Regions from separate parts of the Homo sapiens genome. Here all the other regions are linked to region 3. The links are contacts of gene promoters, found by promoter capture Hi-C in blood cells and fetal thymus (Javierre and others, 2016). All regions are on one chromosome and are shown on one strand. Each heading gives the region's core, a stretch centred on a gene start or on the middle of the fragment in contact. The rest is flanking DNA. Distances are from core to core; before and after follow the strand shown. Region 1 overlaps IQCJ-SCHIP1 (IQCJ-SCHIP1 readthrough). Region 2 overlaps IQCJ-SCHIP1 (IQCJ-SCHIP1 readthrough). Region 3 holds the start of IQCJ-SCHIP1-AS1 (IQCJ-SCHIP1 readthrough antisense RNA 1).

The links. The method cuts DNA at HindIII sites, captures the fragments that hold promoters and counts their contacts. A CHiCAGO score of 5 or more calls a contact.
Region 1: a fragment that was not itself captured here is called in contact with the fragment with the promoter of IQCJ-SCHIP1-AS1 in region 3 in 1 of 17 cell types (erythroblasts); the score reaches 5.4 in erythroblasts.
Region 2: a contact is called between a fragment that was not itself captured here and the fragment with the promoter of IQCJ-SCHIP1-AS1 in region 3, in 3 of 17 cell types (erythroblasts, M2 macrophages and endothelial precursors). The highest score is 6.1, in erythroblasts.

What each region holds. Positions count from the first base shown.
Region 1 is chr3:159,311,829-159,315,990 of GRCh38, reverse strand. All of the region lies in intron 4 of IQCJ-SCHIP1 (IQCJ-SCHIP1 readthrough), which reads right to left. All of the region lies in intron 1 of SCHIP1 (schwannomin interacting protein 1), which reads right to left. Among named protein-coding and RNA genes, the nearest start is that of MIR3919, 31 kb to the right of the region's middle. The HindIII fragment of the contact is 1,103 bases long and covers 1,731-2,833 here.
Region 2 is chr3:159,261,275-159,265,016 of GRCh38, reverse strand. IQCJ-SCHIP1 (IQCJ-SCHIP1 readthrough) reads right to left here. Exons shown (of 10, transcript NM_001414413.1): 4 at 2,334-2,469. It overlaps IQCJ (IQ motif containing J), which reads right to left. Exons shown (of 4, transcript NM_001042706.3): 4 at 1,270-2,469. The coding sequence ends at 2,286. Among named protein-coding and RNA genes, the nearest start is that of SCHIP1, 10 kb to the left of the region's middle. The HindIII fragment of the contact is 4,266 bases long and covers 1-3,742 here.
Region 3 is chr3:159,767,116-159,771,422 of GRCh38, reverse strand. It overlaps IQCJ-SCHIP1-AS1 (IQCJ-SCHIP1 readthrough antisense RNA 1), which reads left to right and starts at 2,811. Exons shown (of 3, transcript NR_121669.1): 1 at 2,811-2,849; 2 at 2,924-3,119. The region is part of intron 4 of IQCJ-SCHIP1 (IQCJ-SCHIP1 readthrough); the gene reads right to left. The region is part of intron 2 of SCHIP1 (schwannomin interacting protein 1); the gene reads right to left. The HindIII fragment of the contact is 15,903 bases long and covers 1,684-4,307 here.

The DNA.
Region 1 (4,162 bases), core at 1,033-3,532, 450 kb after region 3:
GAAGAAAGTAGGAAAATCTTCTAACTCCATTTCCTCACTTTACAGATAAGCCCCCTACCCCCTCCCCGACAAAAAAATAAGTGACTTGATGAAGACCCTTCTTTTCACTGTGCCTTTTTATGTCTCTCCTACTGATGAGTATGTTTTATGTCTAACATGTCATAAGTTGGAGCAGTTTCTGTCTTTTGTTTTAATCTTGCTGTTCTACTCTACAAAACAAAACCTACCCTTAGAAATAGACTAGAGCTTATTTATAGAACAACATACACTTAAGTTTAATATCTCTCCCTTCTTATTTCTCTTACCTTCTACTTAAGTTTGCATGACTATTAACTGTCTTCTAATGGTTTCCCAACAATTTATACTTAGGCTATGGTTCTAAAATGATAAAGTATATAGACATTACTTTAGAACTGATATAATTATGAATATATATATAAAAATCATTAGTCACAATGTGATACTACTATACTTATACAAGCATTAGAAGTCCTAAACACTTTGGGAGGCTGAGGTGGGTGGATCATGAGGTCAGGAGATCGAGACCATCCTGGCTAACACAGTGAAACCCTGTCTCTACTAAAAAAAAAAAAAAAAGAAAGAAAATACAAAAAAATACAAAAAATTAGCCGGGCATAGTGGTGGGTGCCTGTAGTCCCAGCTACTCAGGCAGCTGAGGCAGGAGAATGGCGTGAACCCGGGAGGCGGAGCTTGCAGTGAGCCCAGATTGTGCCACTGCACTCCAGCCTGGGTGACACAGTGAGACTCCATCTCAAAAAAAAAAAAAAAAAAAGAAGTCCTAAAAAAAAGACTGATAGTACCAAGTGTTGACAAGGACATGGAGCAACTATAACTCTCATACATTTCTGGTAAGAGTGTAAATTAATATAAACCCTTTAGAAAAGCTTTTCGCAATAGCTACTAAAACCTAACATGAACATTGTTTCTAACTGAGCAATTTCATTCTTGGCTATATGTACATGCAAAAGAAATGTGGACATTCCAACAAAAGACATCTATTAGAATGTTCATAGCCGCACAGTTCCTAAACAATAAAACTGGAAATAATCCAAATGCCCATTAACAATAGAACAGATAAATAGGCTGTAATATATTTGCATAAAAATCATACTTTCCTTAAAGTGGTGATATCAGCTATAAGCCATTGGGATCCAAGTAATTGAAATACCAAAACTCAAATTGGCTTAAACAATAAAGAAATTTACTATTGCTCGTAACTAGAAATCCATAGGTAGGCTCAGTACCATGGTTGATTGGAATGACAGCTTAGTAATATGATCAAAGATCCAGGTTCTTTCCTGCTTTTGTTTTGCTGTTTTCAGTGTTGGCCTCAGTTTCATATTGGAAACAAAATGGTAGCCACAGTTTTAAGCAATATATCCAGACATACCTATGTCCAGAGGTAGAAGGTGAACTATCTTTTACTTATTTTCCCCTATTAAGAGAAAAGAATTTTTCCTTAGGAAAACAAGAGCATGCTTCCTCTCATATCTCATTGGCTACAAGTCAGTCACATACTGATTCCAAAGCACATCACTAGCAGAAGAAACGGGATGATGAAATTTGACTAAGACTGATCTTCTAGAATGAAATGGAGTATTGATCTTCTGACAACTAACAATAACAGTTAATATGAAGAGCACTTATTTGAACTCCAAATACTGGACTTCCAGTTTCTGCTGAGATGGAAACAGTGCTATTCTCAAGCTTACGACAAAATTACTGACAAACAGTAAGTTTACAAACTTCTACCCATCAGAATGCTGAGGTTGTAGGGCCAGCAACTACTCAGAACCTAGGGAAAAGCAGGTGTCTGCAGTGAAAGATAAAATGCAAGCACTGACCCAAACTATCTCCCTGAATATCTATTAATTACAAAAAGAAAAATAGTACCTTTACCATAAAGAAACCTGACAGATATCACTTTATACAAGTGAACAAAGATAATATCACTAGTGATAAGTCAGGGTAATATCATGTGGCTCCTTATATGACACAGCAAAGCACGCACTTTACCTCTGTGGTATTCTCCCAAACTCATAACCTAAGTCTAACCCTGAGAAAACATCAGGCAAACCAAAATTGTGGGACATTCTACAAAATACCTGATAGTATTCTTCAAAGGAGTTAAGGTGATAGAAAACAAGGCAATAATGAGGACCAGTTGCAGATTAGAGGAGATTAAGGAGACATGCCAACAGAATTTAATGTGGGATCCTGGATTAGATGCCAGAACAGAAAAAAAAAATTAGTGGGAAAAATAATGATCTAAATGAAGTCTGTGGTTTGGTCAGTTATATTATGCCAGTTTGAATTTCTTACTTTGATAACTGTACCTGGCTACATTAGATGTTAACATGAGGAGAAACTGGATGCAGGGTATACAGAAACTCTCTGTACTAGGATTGCAACTCTTGTGAATCTAAAATTATTTTGAAATTTAAAATGTTTGCATACAACTACTTACTTCTATTCTTATTTCAGGACTTAAAATCTTCAACAAATATTATCAAAGTTTCACATATTTTCTCAGTTCTCTGCAGCAGTGGCATTTGTGCCAACAAAATGTAGTGGCTGTCATTATGGTCCCTAGGCACTAAACAGAAAAACAAACAGAAAGTGCCCAAGTTTAGGGAGGCACAGACCAATATATGCCAGTTAACAATAATTTAAATGTCATGAAACCAAAGAACTTTGCTTTTGTACTATTTCTTTCTTTCCTGCGTATCTTGCTTCAGAAGTAATTTCCTCAACTCTTCTAGAGCTCGTAAATCTTCTTCTGTAATCCTTATAAATCACTGATAAAGAAGCTTTTTGTTGTTAACTCCATTATATGCTTTAAATAATAAGGACTATAGAGTATTTTACTAAGTAGCTTCATAGTTGCTAATCTGAGCTACAAGAGACCAAACAGATTTAATAGGTTCTTAATATGATACAAATACTTTGGCAATTTCTCAAGATGAATAATAGCAAAAAAGAAAGGATATGACATTTGTGATTGAAATTAAAGAATAATGCAAGGATCTGCAAAAGCAAAGGTAAGAAAAATGCTTTCTAGCTGACTATTGATTATCTGTTTTTCCCTGTTGAAAAATGCCAGCCATGGTGTTTATCCTTGTTCTGCTATGGTTTGCTGAAGGTACAGAGGAGGGTGAGTTGATAATTTTTGCCTTTTTAATTCATAGGTCAGCAGGTGGTAAGAAGCCACCTCTGAAGCTGTTAAGTTGGACCAGGCACCTCCCAGAGATTCTAGACTCTGAAGTCCACGCAGGGATTCAGATTTCCTCATTCTGCCTAAAGGATGAAGTGTGAAATGAGTGCTTGGTGACCAAAATGGGGAGAGAGAGAGAGATTGATAGGTGCTCACCAAACCCCATTTCCACTTCATCCTGAGTAGACAGTCAGAACATGGTTCCCAGTTCCCCTTGCAGTTAGATGGGATAATGAAATTGAGTTTTGGACCTATGTGGGAGGAGGCGATGCACGTCACTTGCGAAATTGGCACAAAATTCCATGCAATCCTCCACACACTTTCTCTTCTGACATTTTTTTGGCTGACTGTTTTTAACCTAAGGCTTCCTTTCTTGTGCCAAGTTCAAAAGAAGGGAACCTTTGTCTGCCTAGGTTACTGAGCCATGGCCCATAGATCACCACTTTCTCACCAATCTGTGATGAACATTGATGTGAGTGAGAAATGAACATTTATGGTCTTATGCCACTGAGATTGTAGAGTTCCTTTTTATAGCAGCTAGCCTACCCTAGCTAATACGGGATTCCTTATGACTTAGAAAATATTAATATAGGAGATCCCTGGCTCATAACCTGCTAAGTGATATACTGTATGTCGTGTCTAGAAAGACCAAAACCAAGCAAGCATGCTTGAATGTCTTTCCAGACACAATGTACAATACTCTGTCTTATAACTTCCTTGCCCTTTTATGTTGTGTTGTCTAGGCTATGGTTTTATTGTATTTGAGATTTTTGGTATGACTATATCTTCCACCTTTCCTGGGATAGTGCTAGCTTATGTCTTTTGCCCCAGCATGATGATTAAACTTTCACTCTCAAAAGTTTGGAAGATAAATTATATGGTCACTCTAACTATAAGCCACCTTATCTCCTTCTTGGGAGTGAATGA
Region 2 (3,742 bases), core at 714-3,213, 510 kb after region 3:
ATTGTTATAATCAATAACTTCTATTAGAATTCTGGGCAGGGCCTGCTTGCTTTCTGACAGCTAATTCTTTTTGAAAATCTGTTCTGATTCTAATTCTTTTTTTTTTGTTTTCCCCTCTGTCATCCAGGCTGGAGTGCAGTGGCGCAATCTCGGCTCACTGCAACCTCTGCCTCCTGGGTTTCAAGCCGTTCATTCTCCTGCCTCAGTCTTCCAAGTAGCTGGGATTACAGGTGCATGCCACCACACCCAGCTAATTTTTGTATTTTTGGTAGAGACAGGGTTTCGCTATGTTAGCTAGGCTGATCTCAAACTCCTGACCTCAAGCGATCTGCCCACCTCAGCCTCCCAAAGTGCTGGGATTACAGGCATTGATTCTCACTTTTTATAGGCAATCATGGGTGAGCCAGACTGCCATTCACTGAATACAGTCATCCTCAGCACATGAGCACAGAGCTAAAGGATGATGATATGGTGGGGCTACAGGATGCACCCCCAATTCAGTCTGATATACCTTATGGGAGAACAAATTTCTGGGAACATTTGAGGGAGGAAATATCTTCTACTAAAAACCAACAAGGAATCAGGAGGCTAAGCTAAATTAAATAAAGTAGAACTGTTAGTGAAGCTGTGCAGAGATATAAATGAAGTTGATGACTCATGAACAGGGAAGAACATGCATTTATGCACAAAACACTTATGCTAGAATCGAAGCAGTACAGCCGTACAAATATAAAACAAACATATATTCTCATAGGAGTCCAATAAAACCGAAAGGTTAAGCACCCTAAAGCAACACTAAAACTTTTAGATATCACTGGATTCAGCAGCAATTGAGAATTGTCGTGAATTGGGGCTGTGAGAAGGTACAAAAAAAGTAAATCCAAACATTTAACTCACAAAGTGATTTCTAATATTGAGTTTCCATCATTCAAATAAAATCCAAAAGTCATCTAATTTGCACTTTCTATTGGCATTTACAGCAAAGACATCTTAAACATTCAATTCTCACTTTAGTTTTTACCTCACAAATCATGAGTTAGACACAAACGAGAAGCCCTGGCATTTTCCAGTGTAGTTCACGAGTGCCCTCTAGTGATAGTGAGGTCAGTTAGGATAAGCCATTCCCCTAAATAATTGTTTTAAAAAGTGAAGATTCACTAAATGTTCAATTTCTGCTGTCAATTAAAAATGGATCTTCTGCCACTTTTATTTGCACTGCTATAAACTCAACTTATTCTCTCTCTTTAAATCCATATCTAGGCAAAACCATTTATTGAAGAATATGCAATGCAACCATCTGAAAACATTTCAAATACAGTAACTTTTACCTGATCCCAAAAAGAATACATTGCGTTGAGTGTTGGGAAACCTTTTTACCACAGAATAAACATGATAACCAAAAGTAAAAGAAAAATTTTTGGAAGTAATATACTTGTGTAATTACTTCATTTCTCTAACTTTTCAGCATTTCAGTGACTGGTTACAAATTATCACAATGCTTAAATCCACAAAATCCTGGTTCATAAATCCCTCATCACTGATTTCTTCCCACTTTTGGTGTTTTTTAAAAATAAAGACTTCCAGCAGATTCCCTTATTCCTTAACTCTCTATCTCAGATTTCTTAAACTGGTGGCCTGTAGGTCAATTGTGGTCTGTAGGCATGCTTACTTTACCTTTTAAATTTTCTTACTGGCTGCTAACACTTAAAAATGCAGATTTCTGACATGTCCTGAAGAAAGAAAATCACATTTGGCCATGCCTGCCTGTATCGCCACATGGTGTCACATTGTCAGGAGCCAAGTGCGCTGCCCTTCAGGTGAGGTCTATGTTCTCCGTGTAGCCAGGGGCACAGCTCAGCCACCTCAGTCATGAGGGTGACTTACCTGGCCCCTGGAGACATTTAAGTTGCAACCCCTGAGTGTGTGACCACTTTCAATTCTTCTGGTAAAAGTTCTCTTTCTACTCCTTATAACCAATCTTATCTTCTATCATATTAGCACCACACAATAAAAGAAACACACAGCACATACTAAAAGAAATATGCTATTATAAAGAAAAGCAAAAAAGATACCTCCATAATAGAGAAATGAGAACACATAAATGCAATCTATTTTCTCCAGACTTGATAAAGTTCACTTTGTGCTTATGAATTGTGTCTTTATTTTGAGGTGACAAAACTCTCACCATGGGTTCCTGGGTAGCAAATAAGCTACATAGATCTTCACTGTCACAAACCACCTGCTCACATCCCAAGATTTCTCTCTTAGAACCAAAGTCTAGGCTTTCAGTTGAATGTCAAGTCAGGACATAGAAAAAGAAACATGACACTCACGGGTGTGCTGCTGTCGGAGAAGGTGTTCATGCTGACAGAGCTGCTCAGCTTCTCTGAGGAGACAGAGGGTGGGGACGGGCTCCTCTTCCCCAGGGGCTCCTGCCGCTGCAGGTACTCTCGCCATGCTCGCTGAATGCTGAAAAAACAAAACAAAACAAAAAACAGCACACACATGATTACTGTTGGATCATGGTCCACAGACTCAGAAACTCACAAGGAGTCTGAAGGAATTGGCTTTGGTGCCAAGGGAAGTAGAACATACAGAATGTGATGTAGTGAATCAGGAGACCTGAACTTTAACTTCAATCCAGCCATGGAGACTGTCTCCCTACCTTACTGGTTTGACTTTCACAGACTTGACTGCACTCAACCGGCCTAAAAGAGTCAACTTAATAATAAAATTCATCAGTCAAAACAAACTAGTTTGCACAGGTAAATGTACTTTGATTTATGAGACAACAAATTCTTTCAATTTTTCATCTTATATTTTAGATGAGAATAATAAATAGGCTGACTACTACTGCATGCACTCAATGTGTGATTTTTGAGGGGCCATTCTGTGCCAGGGTCAGCTGTAGACTCTGAACAGGGACTCTGCCGTGCACAGCTCCAGAGCAGTCCTTTGCATGACTGCAAGGTGAAGGTGTCAGTGATGTGCAGCACAGTCTGCATGGCCAAATGCAGTGGCCCTGCTGTGGGGCACAAGGCAGGCGAGAGCACCACATCATGGGTTTTATATACTGTGGAAGGGAATAGGAAATGGACAAAGATTATAAATAAAGAAATGGACAAAGATTATTCAAGTGTTACGTACTACTCAGAGAATTAATGTAATGTCATTAGGCAGCTATTTCAGGTTTCGCCTAAGGAAGTTATTTTCTGTGATTAGTATCAGAAAAAATAAATTATCTTCTGCTCAGGATAACGGAAACCTCTTCTTAATATAAGCTAAGTGATTCCCCCATGGACTGTGTATTAGTCCGTTTTCATGCTGCTATGAAGAAATACCCGAGACTGGGTAATTTATTAAGAAAAGAGGTTTAATTGACTCACAGTTCTGCATGGCTGGGGAGGTCTCAGGAAACTTACAATCATGGCAGAAGGCACCTCTTCTGAGTAAAGGGGGAAGCCCCATGTAAAAGCACCAGACCTCCTGAGAACTCACTATCAACAGAACGGCATGGGGGAAATTGCCCCATGATTCAATTGTCTACATCTGGTCACACCCTTGACATGTGGGGATCATTACAATTCAAGGTGAGATTTGGGTAGGGACACAGAGCCAAATCATATCAGACTGGCTTGTGATCTTTGAGATTAACATCTCGATTTTCATAGGGGGGGTCACTGAACACAGTCTAACCTCTTCTGGGAGTTAACAGTTCATGCGGACTAGTTGTTAGGATTCA
Region 3 (4,307 bases), core at 1,562-4,061:
CCACACAGAATGTTTTCAATGCTGTGCCCCAGGCTGCAGAATCACACAACTTATTAAACTTATAAACTTTACTGTATTTTGTAGGAATACTAAAGACATCTTAATTCAGTCTACAAAAACAGACACTTGTGTAATTTAAACATAGCCCAAGTAACTAAGGAAATAAACTACTCAGCCATTCAAGCTACTTTAGTAGTGTGTCATTGATGGGGAAGAAGTAACTGGGCTGTAATTCTTACAGAATAATACATTGAAAATAACCTATAATTAGTACCATTCTAGGAAGAAATGTAGGTAATTTAAAAAGTGTGCTACTAGCTAATAGTATAAACAAATAAAAAGACACATTATTTTCAAGTACTTTGGAAATAACTTCGTCAGAAGAATTTGCTTTCAATTAACGTGTCAATTAAAATTGTTCTTATCTTCTCATTAAATGAGGAAAATGCACCTGTCAGAGGCACTAAAAAATAATAAAACTGCACTTAAAATGTGTTGAGTCTACAGCTAGAGCTCTTCTCTAATTTAAAAATGATTCCTTTCCTTTTTTAAACAACAGGAGTAAAGACTGGTTGGATGTGACAAGTGATCTCCTTGCTCTCTTGTTGTTTTCTCTTAAGAGGGAGGGAGCAGCCACCCAGCCACCTGAAGGGAGGTGTCCTGGAAAGCAGGATGCAGATGGAATAGAGCAATGGGAAAAGGGGAAACCTCTTTCAGTGATTTAAGCATCATGTGATGGCAAAGTAAAATAGTACTTCCTTGGAAGACAGGCAGCTTCTTACACAGGTAAACATACACCTACCACGTGATCAAGCCGTTCTTATTTCTAGTTATTTACCCAAGAGAAATGAAAGTGTATATTCAGGCCCGGCACAGTGGCTCACACCTGTAATCCCAGCACTTTGGGAGGCGAAGGTGGGCGGATTACCTGAGGTCAGGAGTTCAAGATCAGCTTGACCAACATGGTGACACCCCGTCTCTACAAAAATACAAAAATTAGCCAGGCATGATGGTGGCTGCCTGTAATCCCAGCTACTCAGGAGGCTGAGGCAGGAGAATCACTTGAACTGAGCAGGCGGAGGTGGCAGTGAGCCAAGATAGCATCATTGCACTCCAGCCTGGGTGACAAGAGCAAAACTTCACCCCAAAAATAAATAGATAAAGTGTATACATGTGTCCATAACAATGTTATTTGTAATAGCCAAAACCTAGAAACAATGCACATGTATAACAACAGATGAAAATGGTATATCCACAAAATGGAACACTACTCAGCAAGAGTTCAAACGAACCACTGATATATACAATAACATGGATGAATCTCAAAATAATCACTTTCTGAGTTAAAGAAGCCACACAAAAATCCACACATACTGTGATTCCACTTATGTTAATTTTAGAAGGCATAAACTAATCTATAACATAGAAATCAGATCAGTTGGTTGCCTAGGGACAAGATGGTGGTATTACAAAGGAGTGCAAGGATACTTTTGGGGATGCTAAATATGTTCATTATCTTGATGTTCATGATGGTTTCACAGGTGTGTCAAAACACATACATATGCCATACATATGTCAAAACTCATCAAATTGTACATTTTAACTATGTACAGTTGATGTATGTCACTTATACCTTAATAAAGCTATTTTTATTTTATTTTATTTAATTTTTGAGACGAAGCTTCACTCTTGTCACCCAGGCTGGAGTGCAATGGTGTGATCTTGGCTCACTGCAACCTCCGCCTCCTGGGTTTAAGCGATTCTCCTGCCTCAGCCTCCCGAGTAGCTGGGATTACAGGCGCCCGCCACCATGCCCGGCTAATTTTTGTATTTTTAGTAGAGATGGGGTTTCACCACGTTGGCCAGGCTGGTCTCGAACTCCTGACCTCAGGTGATCCGCCTGCCTTGGCCTCCCAAAGTGCTGGGATTACAGGCCTGAGCCACCATGCCTGGCCAATAAAGCTATTTTTAAAGAAAAGCGTCAAAATAGGCTGAGTCTCCAGAGACAGGGAACAGGCTAGACATGGAGGAACACGTCCCATGAAGGACAGGAAGCCTCAGGGACAAACACAGAGAAAAAGATGTGTAATTATATTCCATTTAGGAGGAAGAGTACACTGAGGCAGTGCCCCCCCTCCCACCCCACTTGGCAACAGGTCCACAGAGCCTTTTGAACAGGAGCAAGAGGGCTACAGTGATGCACTAAGGTCCTGGAGAAGCAGAAGAGAGAAAGCCGACTGTTTGTGGCCCGCTCTCATAAGAGGGAAAACTGTCCAGTCCTGTGCACCAGAGTTAGAGTAGGCAAGAAGATAAGAATTTAAGAGAAACATGAACTTCTGCAAGCAGGACTCCTAATCTGACATCAAAGGCACCAACCCCAGAACCTTTCTTTACTCCATCTATGGCCCTTGAATTTATTAAGAGTGTTCACGCACAAGACGGAATACAAGCCCAGGGCAGGACTGTGAGAAGCACACTGACACCAGATGAGCAGGGGCTGCCCATGGAAGGGGCACTTCTGGGAGTAGTTCTGGTTTTTGGGTAGAGCCCCTCACCCTCTCTGCATGTTTCAAGCATTTATTTGTGCCAGGCACAATGCGAACTACTGGGGATATGGCTGTCCCAGGTGATGACATCACAGTGGAGGGCTGGACCAGGTGCTGGAGGTCTGTCTTGAGCCCCCAGCTCTGAGATGGAGCAAGGATCCAGTCACTAGAGTGTTTCCATCAGGACTCCCCAGGCCCTTCCATGCTGTGACACCAAAGATAGTTCCTGACAGCATCCAAGCTCATCATCCTCCACAGATACCAAGAGAGAGATTAGTTTTCTAAACCCATCGCAAAGTGAAGGTCAGTGCTAGGTTTTAAATCCCACCTAAACATTGTGCATTTTTAAATTTGCCTCTCAATCTTATCTGAATTAGGGATAGCTGATTGTCATCCCATTTTTGAGACCTCAGTCATCCTTCTGCGTGCATCACCACAACTAAGAGGAAGGAAAGAGCACTGGATGTGGAGTGAGGAGACATGGATTCTGTCACTACCCTGCTCTGCAGAACCCAATAGTATGTCATTGAAACAAAACAATACAAAACCCTGTCTACAAAAGAAGACTCATAAGTAAGGGGGTTTTGATGATTTCCCAGTTTACTTATGTCCTTAATTCTAAGGAAGTGCAATAAGAGACTTGTCAATAGGAAACCCTTTAAGTTTCAGGGAGGTGGGAGCTCCTTCCTTTCCTTTTATTTCAAATTATTTTAAGCATTAAAAAAGGGGGCGGGGAACTAGTCTGGTGTCACAAGAAAGAACAAAACCCTGTTCATAAGTTTCTCACTGGGTCTGAGGCAAATCACTTAACCTCTCTGGGCTTCAATTTTCTCAACTGTAAAATGGGAGTTGGATTAGGTATGGGTTGTGTTGTTGTCATAAACATTCATTCATTCATTCATTCAATATTTGAGAACCTACTCCATCCCAGGCATGTTCCAGGCAATAGGTTATAGAGTTAAAAAACAGGCAAGAACTCCCGCCTACATTTCAGAGGGACCAAAAATAGAGGACTAAATAAGATAATGTCAGATAGTGACAAGCACTAAGAAAACAATACACCAGGAGTGCTGGAGTTGGGGTGCAGTGCTGTTACTTTACTTTAGGAAGGGTGGTGGGGGACAGCTTCTCTGAGCTGGTGAGAGTTGAACTGAGTCTGGAATGATGAGAAGGAACCAGACACTTGCTTCCAAGCAGAGGTTACAGAAGGGCAAAAGCCCTGAAGTAGGAATAGGCTTACTTGGTGAAGAGAAGCTATCCCCTTTTCATTGTATACCCCATTCCTAGTGGTGTGTATTAATGCCACTTAAATATATTCATACAAGACATTTTAAAGAGGAGTAAAATATCATTGGATTTGAACAGTTCCTTCAAGGCAGGCCTTCTCTTCCACACGGCTCCTTTGTTCTTCTCCGGTTTCTGTCCTCATGGTCATAAATTCCCTTACGTACTCCAGGCAGCACTAAACAGGATTTAAATCAGTGCTTTTCAATCTTTTATAACAGCGACCCATAGTGAGAAGTAAACTTTATGTTGCAACCCACCATACATATAAAACTAAAGTTTTAAAAATTACCAACTTTACTATGACTCCCTGCAATACACTATCATACATTCTATTTTATTTCATTTTTTTAAATGCTAAGGTGATTTCATGGGAAACTTACTGTTTGAAAAACAGTATTCTAAACCAACACTGACTAGTAATTTTGTTCAAACACAAACCAAAACATGAAAAAATCCACCATTAACCTCAAATGC